Linked DNA regions of Homo sapiens: region 2 is linked to region 1. The links are contacts of gene promoters, found by promoter capture Hi-C in blood cells and fetal thymus (Javierre and others, 2016). All regions are on one chromosome and are shown on one strand. The core of a region is centred on a gene start or on the middle of the fragment in contact, and the rest is flanking DNA. Distances in the headings are between cores, read along the strand shown. Region 1 holds the start of ARL14EPL (ARF like GTPase 14 effector protein like). Region 2 overlaps LOC102467217 (a long non-coding RNA gene).

What was found. Contacts are between HindIII fragments. The CHiCAGO score rates a contact against its expected background, and 5 or more counts as called.
Region 2: a fragment that was not itself captured here is called in contact with the fragment with the promoter of ARL14EPL in region 1 in 2 of 17 cell types (naive CD8 T cells and naive B cells); the score reaches 6.3 in naive CD8 T cells.

Annotation. Positions count from the first base shown.
Region 1 is chr5:116,030,776-116,034,888 of GRCh38, forward strand. It overlaps ARL14EPL (ARF like GTPase 14 effector protein like), which reads left to right and starts at 1,697. Exons shown (of 4, transcript NM_001195581.2): 1 at 1,697-1,730. RefSeq lists an enhancer at 1,292-1,341. The HindIII fragment of the contact is 15,754 bases long and covers 1-4,113 here.
Region 2 is chr5:115,657,649-115,661,625 of GRCh38, forward strand. The region is part of intron 3 of LOC102467217 (a long non-coding RNA gene); the gene reads right to left. Among named protein-coding and RNA genes, the nearest start is that of TMED7-TICAM2, 34 kb to the left of the region's middle. The HindIII fragment of the contact is 2,908 bases long and covers 984-3,891 here.

The DNA.
Region 1 (4,113 bases), core at 447-2,946:
AGTGGAACATCTTTTGAAGCAAAAAGCAAGGAAGTACTAAAAAAATAATTGGGACATACCAAATGGGCACAAAAGCCAGCTTGAAGAGAACCCCACTGGCCAAATGTGGGAAAATTTGAGAATCATAATAATAAAGGCAATAAGGGAATAAAATAAGAAATCATGAGCTAAATAACAATTAAAATTTTGATGAGGAAGGGTATTTACATAATTTCAAAGTACTTTCCCACAAAGTACAGTTGAATAATGAAGGCAAAATGAGTAATTTACAGTGGAAAAGCCTGGCAGATGTCACCTTCATCAAGTGATGAATTCCAATGATATTCCATTGCAGTGGAATAAATAGAAATTTTATTCCATTTAATAAGATGAAATGACAAACTACATTGTTACTCTTGTTATACTTCTAACAAAACTGCATAACATGAATCTAATAATGAAGAAAAAACAAACTGAGGGACATGTCACAAAAATAATATCCAAGTCTCAAGGTCATGAAAGTCAAGGAAAGACAGAGGATCTGTTCTAGACTGAAGGAGCTTAGAGACATGACAACTGAATGTAGTGTGTGGTCCTGAACTGGTTCCTTTCGCCATAAAAGACTAACATTACTGGGACAATTGGCAAAACTTGGGTGGAGTCTGAAGATTAGATGCTATCATTGTTAATTTCTCAACTTTGATGGCTTGTTGTATTTATGTAGAAAATATTTTGGTTGTAAGAAATATACATGAAGGAGTGAAGCAGTAACCTATTGATTCAGGAAAAAAAATATTTTTATAGTAACTCCAGCTTTTCTGTAAGTTTCTGAATAAATTAAACTTAAGATAAATAAAGTTTATCATCTATTTGTTACTGGAACTGCAATGCACTTTCATTTCAAGTCACTTTTTTCTTTCAAATTTGGTAATGGCCACAGCCACAATCCTGAAGTTATCTACTAAGCATTTTAATAATTATGCCCAAGTTGGAAATTCAAGTTGTCCGAAAAGACTTAATTTCTTGTTTCAGTCAACGCTTCCCATCTTCAACCAGAGGAACTAAAAACTAAAAATTTTAAAATGTGTTACTCTAAATTAACAAAGCTATATAAATGAAAAATAAATGTAAGTCATTACACTTTTAAATAAAACTTGTTTGAAACTTTTATATAAAAGTCTGTAGTGTTTATACTTCTAAAAATATTAAATCTTACAATTTCACTAAGCCTTTTGGGAAGACTTTTACATATACATGGGTGAATCATGTAACTTGAAATTATTATGCTAACAACTTGACTTAGTCCATGTTACAGTTATAGCTAATAATATTTTACCATTTTGTATAATCAGTACACGTCTAGATGTATAGTAAAGTAGTCTTCCCTTAGCTGCAGTTTCATTTTCCACAGTTTCAGTTACTCGGGGTCAACTATAGTTCAAAAATATTACATCACTACCCTGTGTTTTGGGGCCACTATTAAGTACAATAAGGGTCACTTGAACACAAGCACTGCAATACTGCAACAGTTGCTCTAATCGCCAAGGTGACTACGTGGTGACTCATTGCCATCCAGTGGGCCGAAGCAGGAGGGCAAGAGATTTCATCGCACCACTCAGAACAGTGCACAGTTTGAAACTTAAGAGTTGTTTATTTCTGGAATTTTCCATCTACGTCACAATACCTGTGTTATTGCCCTCACTTCATCCCATCACGTAGCCATTTGACCATTTTACATCATCATAAGAAGCGTGAGTACAGTACAATAAGATATTTTGAAAGAGAAAGATACCATATTTGCATATTTTTAATTACAATGTATTGTTATAATTGTTCTATTTTATTGTTAGTTACTGTTGTTAATTTCTTACTGTGCCTAATTTATAAATTAACTTTATCTTAAGTACATATGTACAGGAAAAACCGTAGTGTATATAGAGTAGGATACTATCCATGGTTTCAGGCATCCACTGGGGACCTTGGAAGGTAGCATATAATTCCTGATACATAGCTGTGTATTCTGAGTTTTTTGTTGTGGTGGTTTTTGTTTTTGTTTTTTTGAAACAGGGTGTCAGTCTGTCAATGCAGGCTGGAGTGCAGTGCTGCCATCTCCGCTCGCCGCAGCCTCGACTTCCTGGGCTCAGGTGATTCTCCCACCTCAGCCTCCTGAGTAGCTGGGACTACAGGTGTGCACCACCATGCCTGGACAATTTTTTGTATTTTTAGTTGAGATGGGGTTTCACCATGTTGCCTGGGCTGGTCTTGAGCTCCTGGGCTCAAGTGATCCACCTGCCTCAGCCTGCCAAAGTGCTGGGATTCCAGGTGTGAGCCCCCACACCCGGCCTATAGCTATGTATTCTTAATTGTTACACTCTAGTAGAAGTGAAATAACAACTCTCTGCTAGGTACATATTACCACCTCCTTTTACTACAGGAAATCCCCGACTTACCGTGGTTTGAGTTACTATTTTCATACTTTCCAGTGGTGCAAAAGTGATACAAATTCAATAGTAACCATACTTTGAGTACCTACAGAGCTATTCTATTTTTTTCACTTTTAGTGTAGTATTCCATTAATTACATGAGATTTTCAACATTTTATTATAAAATAGGCTTTGTGTTAGATGATGTTGCCCAACTGGAGGCTAATGTAAGTGTTCTCAGAACATTTGAGGTAGACTATGCTAAGCTATGATGTTTGGTGCATTAAATGCATTTTCAACTTACTATAGGCTTATGGGGACATAACTTCATCATAAATTAAGATCACCTGTAATTTTTTCACTGAAGAAAATCTAACTAGATGAATAAAATTATCTTGATTTGGGTGGTACAACATGACTTCAAAATTCTAAATGGAATTTAGAGGCACAGAATGAAAAAATGAAAAATACAGGTAGATATTATCTACTCTATTTTAAAAATGTAGATCCTTGGATCAAGATTTTCAAAATAATAAGTTGCAGGCTTTTTAGTACAAACTCTTTCTACCCAAGCTATATTCTTAAAAGTATATTATAACTTATTTTGTTTGCTAAAAAGTTTGTTTCGTGAAAAAAAGGCTGTGTGTGTATTTAAAATAGAGTATATGTTTGTGGGAATAGTGTGTATGTGAACACTTGCCTGTCCTCAGCTGAACTGCGCTTTAATTATTTTGATTGCCATGGAAAAGAAATAGCACGATATAAAGGCTTCCTCACTTTCTTTGCTTTCTCTCACAAACAATGCCAAGCAATGAGATGAGGCTGTCACCTTCTCTGCTCTCAGGTTTCTACTGAAAGTGGACTATTTTGATGACGTGATGAGTCCTAGACTCTCAGGATTCACAGATACACATCAGAGGATTAAAGGGGCTCTAAGCATGGGGTTTGTGAGAGTTTTGGGTTTTCTATCCTCTGTGAAATGATCACCTTGTCTTTGAAAATAGTTCTTTAGTGTTAGCATGTCTTACTTGAGATCAACAAAGGCGGTTAGTCCCATCATTTCCTTTGGGTAGGGACAATCCTTAGTGATGCCAGGGCTCTCAGGGTTCATTTAGGAGATTGTCCTGAGAATGCCCCGTAACAGAGAATACCTATGGTTTCTTCCAGAAAGTGTTCCTTTGACTTGTCAATAGTGAGCAGGAGGCCTTTCTGATCACTTAGCACTAGAGGGTGGCCTCAGTATTTATGAACTCCTGTGAGAGGGCGGCAGGATGAAAGTACTAGTAGTAGCACTAGAAATGAAGTATTATTTATTTCTTCACAAGGTTGATGTTTTCCTTCACTTCCCCCAACACATACCCCCATTTTTAGAGAAATGTTACCTCCTTTTATAAATAAGTTCAGAGAGAAGTTTTGACCTGCTCAACTAGAAGTAGTACAACGAAGTAGGGAAGAGATGTGATCAGCAGGAAAATTCTTCTACCTGCTGAGTGTCTTCTGTGGGTGATATACCATTTGAGCTATGTGCTATATATGCCTTGTCTCAGCCTCAAAATACCCCTATGAGGCAGTGTGTCCAGTAGGCTTCAGTTAGAAAAACAGAAACCAGACTAATTTTGTTTGTTTGTTTTAGCAAAGAGATTTCAATGTTAAGGATTTGTTAAACAAGTATTAGAGAAGTGAAAAAACAAAAGAAGAACCCCAAGTTATA
Region 2 (3,977 bases), core at 1,188-3,687, 370 kb before region 1:
GGAGGTCAAGGTTTTGGGAAATCAAGTAGCGGTAAAACTTGATTGCTACGAGTTCTACAGATCTTAGGAACTATAGTGTCATCTGGGTTGTTCTAAAGGCCCTAGGGAGAATAAGTAGGGACAAAGAGAAATGAAATTGCCAGATGAGAATTTATGTGGAAAATCAGAGAGCCCTGAATGCAACTTTAAAAGCACATCTTATTTCCAATAACTGCAGGAGGAGGTAGTTGAGAACTAAGCTTAGGATCTGATTATAAGGGTTGCAGCATTAATTAAATGCTCAAGTTCATGAGGCTTATTATATTAAAATATAGACACTTAGGGGGAATGAATGCAACCCTGTCCCCTGAGTCATGGAATGATTCATACTACTGCAAAGAAAGTATGACAATGCGTTCACACCACTGGAATTCACTAGTCTTGCCCATCTCCAAAAAGGAGCTGGATCACCAGAAGAGCAGAATAGCCTGCTGACCTCACAATTTTGGCACCAGCTAAAAGAAAGCACCTTCAAGGTTAGGGGGCTATCCTGCAAGATACGGCAAATGCCTTAAATGAGCAACATCTCTCTATATCTTTCTCTACAGGTAGAATGAATGGGTCTGGAGACCAAGCAAACATGTGACATTTGCAAAAATGTATAGTGTACAAGGCTACAAAACAAGGCTTAATAAATTCCTAAGAATGGATGCTATACAGCTTGTTCTCCGAAAAGAGTGCAGCAAAATTAGAAACCAACGTTAAAAGGAGATTAGAAACCCTCATATGTTTTGAAATTTTAAAAAACACTACAAAAACATTCATGGGTACAATATGGCAAGAGAAAAAATAAAAGGTATAGCGTTTGGAATGGAAGTAATAAAATCGTCATTATTTGCAGATGACATGAATTGGAAAAGAAAATGAATCTTGATACTTTTGTCATGCAATATAAAAAATCAGTATAAAATGGATCACAAACAAATGTAAAGGTAAAAGAGTGAAGCTTTTAAAAAATACATAAGAGAATCTTCATGGCCTTGAGGAGGGTAAACCTTTCTTAAACAGGACACTAAAAGCACTGCCAATGAGAGAAAAAAAAAGATTTCATTGAAGTACAAACTTTTGTTAATAAAAAGAGATTATTTAGAGAGTGAAAAGACAAACTACCAACTGAGAGAAGAAATTCACAATACATATATCTGTTAAAAGACATATGCAGAATATGCAAAGAACTCTTACAACTCAATTATAAAAAGACAATAATGCAATTTAGAAATCAGAAAAAGGTTTGAATTAACATTTCATAAAAGAAGATATGCAAATGACCAATTAGCATATAAAAAGGAGTTCAGAATTATAGTCAGCAGGTAAATGAAACATGAATGACATTAAGGTACTACGCTTCACACCAAAATAAGTAAAATTTAGAAAAAAACTGACAATACCAAATATGATGGAACGTGGAATGACCAACTCTCACACATATACTGGTGGGAGTGTAAGTTGGTAAAAACCACTATGAAAAACAATTTGGAAATATCTAATAAAGCTAAATATATGTCTATTCTATAATTCAAAAATTCTACTGCTAGCTATATTCCCAACAGAAATGAGTAAAAATGTCCAGCAAAAGACATTTATAAGAACTTTCATACTAGTTTTACTCATAATAGCCCCACACTGGAAGCAATACAAATATGACTTGAGAGTAGAATGGACAAATAAGTATATTCATTGTCAGTAATGGAGAGGGGGAAAAAACCTGTTGCTTTAATATGAATAAATCTCACAGACATAATGATGAGTGAAAGAAATCAGTCACAAAATGGGACACATGGTTCCTTCTAGATGATATTAAGAAGAGGTAAGACTAATCCATGGTATTAGTCAATAGCGGTTATCTCTTGGGGGGTATTTTGGGGAAAGAGGTATAGAAAAGTTCTTTGGGTTGCTGGAAATGTTTTATATCTTGATCTGGGCAGTAGCTACACAAGTGTAGACATATGTAAAATTCACTGAGTTATTCACTTAATTATGCACTTTATATATAATAAGCCTTCATAACAATGTTTCTTAAGTCACAATAAAATTTTAATGAGAATTATAAAATATTTAGAACTGGATGACATAGAAAGCACTGCATGTCAAAACTTGTGGGATACAGCTAATGCAGTACTTAGAAGGCAATTTATAGCCTTAATTGCATATATTACAAAACAAGAAAGATGAAAAATTAATGAGCTATTCAACTAAAAAATTGCTAGAAGAAGGACCATAGAGAAACTCCAAACAAAATAGAAGAAAGAATATATGTTGAAAGTAGAAATTAATACAATATAAAACAAAAATAGTAGTACAGAAGATGACAAACACAGAAAGAGAGAACGATAAATAGAAACTATGAACAAATGAAGAGCAGAAATGAGTTAGTAGCTACAAAAACAGAAGAAACAGAAGCACCATAATGGTTGGATACTACAGGAGGAAGCATGCCAGACTCTAAGACTCCAAGATGTGGCAAATTTTTAGAGTGGCTATTTTGCTCCAGAGTTGCAGTCAGACTGCTGGAGCTACAGTTGTGTAGGAATTATGCTGCATTTCTCCATGAAAATGGTTGAGACTATTTCTCATCTACTTTATTTCCACACAAATGATTGCAATAAAATCTTGACCCTAGATATAACTTGAACTTTAACTCTTGCAACCTGTTACATTTACCCAATTGACATCCTTTCTCTCTTCTTTTGCTAACCGCATACAATTCAGCATTCTGGGATGCACCCCCCACATTTTATGATTACATATGAGTCTTGTTTCCTGAGATGCAGGCCCGACCCCCTTCCCAGCCAAGCCAATCAATGTCATTCCTATGGATGGCTTTTCCTAAAACCACTGGGAAGAAGGCAATCTTTTTTTCCTTAAGGTTACTAGCTGGGTCGAATTAGACCCAGAGTTACTGAAGACTATCTTTCCAAAACAACGAAAATAATGCCTTGCCTGAGAATGAAGTTGACATAGAGGAAAGCAGAGCAGAGATGGGGAATGAGGCAGCAAGGTGTAAGAGAGACTGATTGCTAACAATATTGTTAAGGCCCTGGATCCAGCCATGGCTGGACCCATAATCAATTGCTTTTTTGCTTAAACTAGTTTGTTTTAGATGTCTGCACTTGCAACCCAAATTGCCCTAATAGCAATAATTGACCAGTATTAAAAAAAAAAATCTGTCTCAACATTTTTTTTTAAATCTCACCTGCTCACAGGATCTTCATATAGGTTTCCCTTAGTGTTACACTTACATTTTCTGTTCAAATTAGTGCCTGTAAGATGGTTCTATATTATGCATCAACATATTCAAAGTCTTTGCTAAATTGCAGATTCAAAGTTTTTGCTAGATTACAAGTTTTAGAAGATTCACTCAATGGGTTTAAGTTTAAATTTGAGAGAAGAATAAAATAATCTAGCAAAGCCCATGTTCATTCAGTACAGGTAATACAAATAGAGCTTTTCTGAGGAATCATTGTCTTCTGTGGAGCCTCTGTGTGCAGGCTGCTAAAACGAGATTTACAATTACTGGCACAATCAAAACGCTCAGAATGATTGGGGCTCTTAGAAACTGTTGAACTCTCACGGTTTTCCAAATACTTGGCATTCAACTCATCTGAATATCACCCTCAATTTCCCCCACAGAATCTAAGAGTAAAGAAAATAAAATCTCATTGCCAACAGAGCCAGCAGAATGAGTGCTGAGCTAATCTCCATTTCACCCTGTGACCTACCCCCAGACTGAGCGAGCCCTCAGCCAACACTCATAAATGTGCTCTCCTCCAGAGAAAAAGCTCAGCATTCCTACACTAGAGATTCTGAACAGATTTTCTGGTGCTTTCAAATAATACAACATGGCTCTAAGAAAGCTTAGAGTTTTTATTGTTACAGTTTTCAATTCCAATTTTAATAGAGTAAATTTTGACAGCAAATCTTTCTTCTTAGTTAATGCT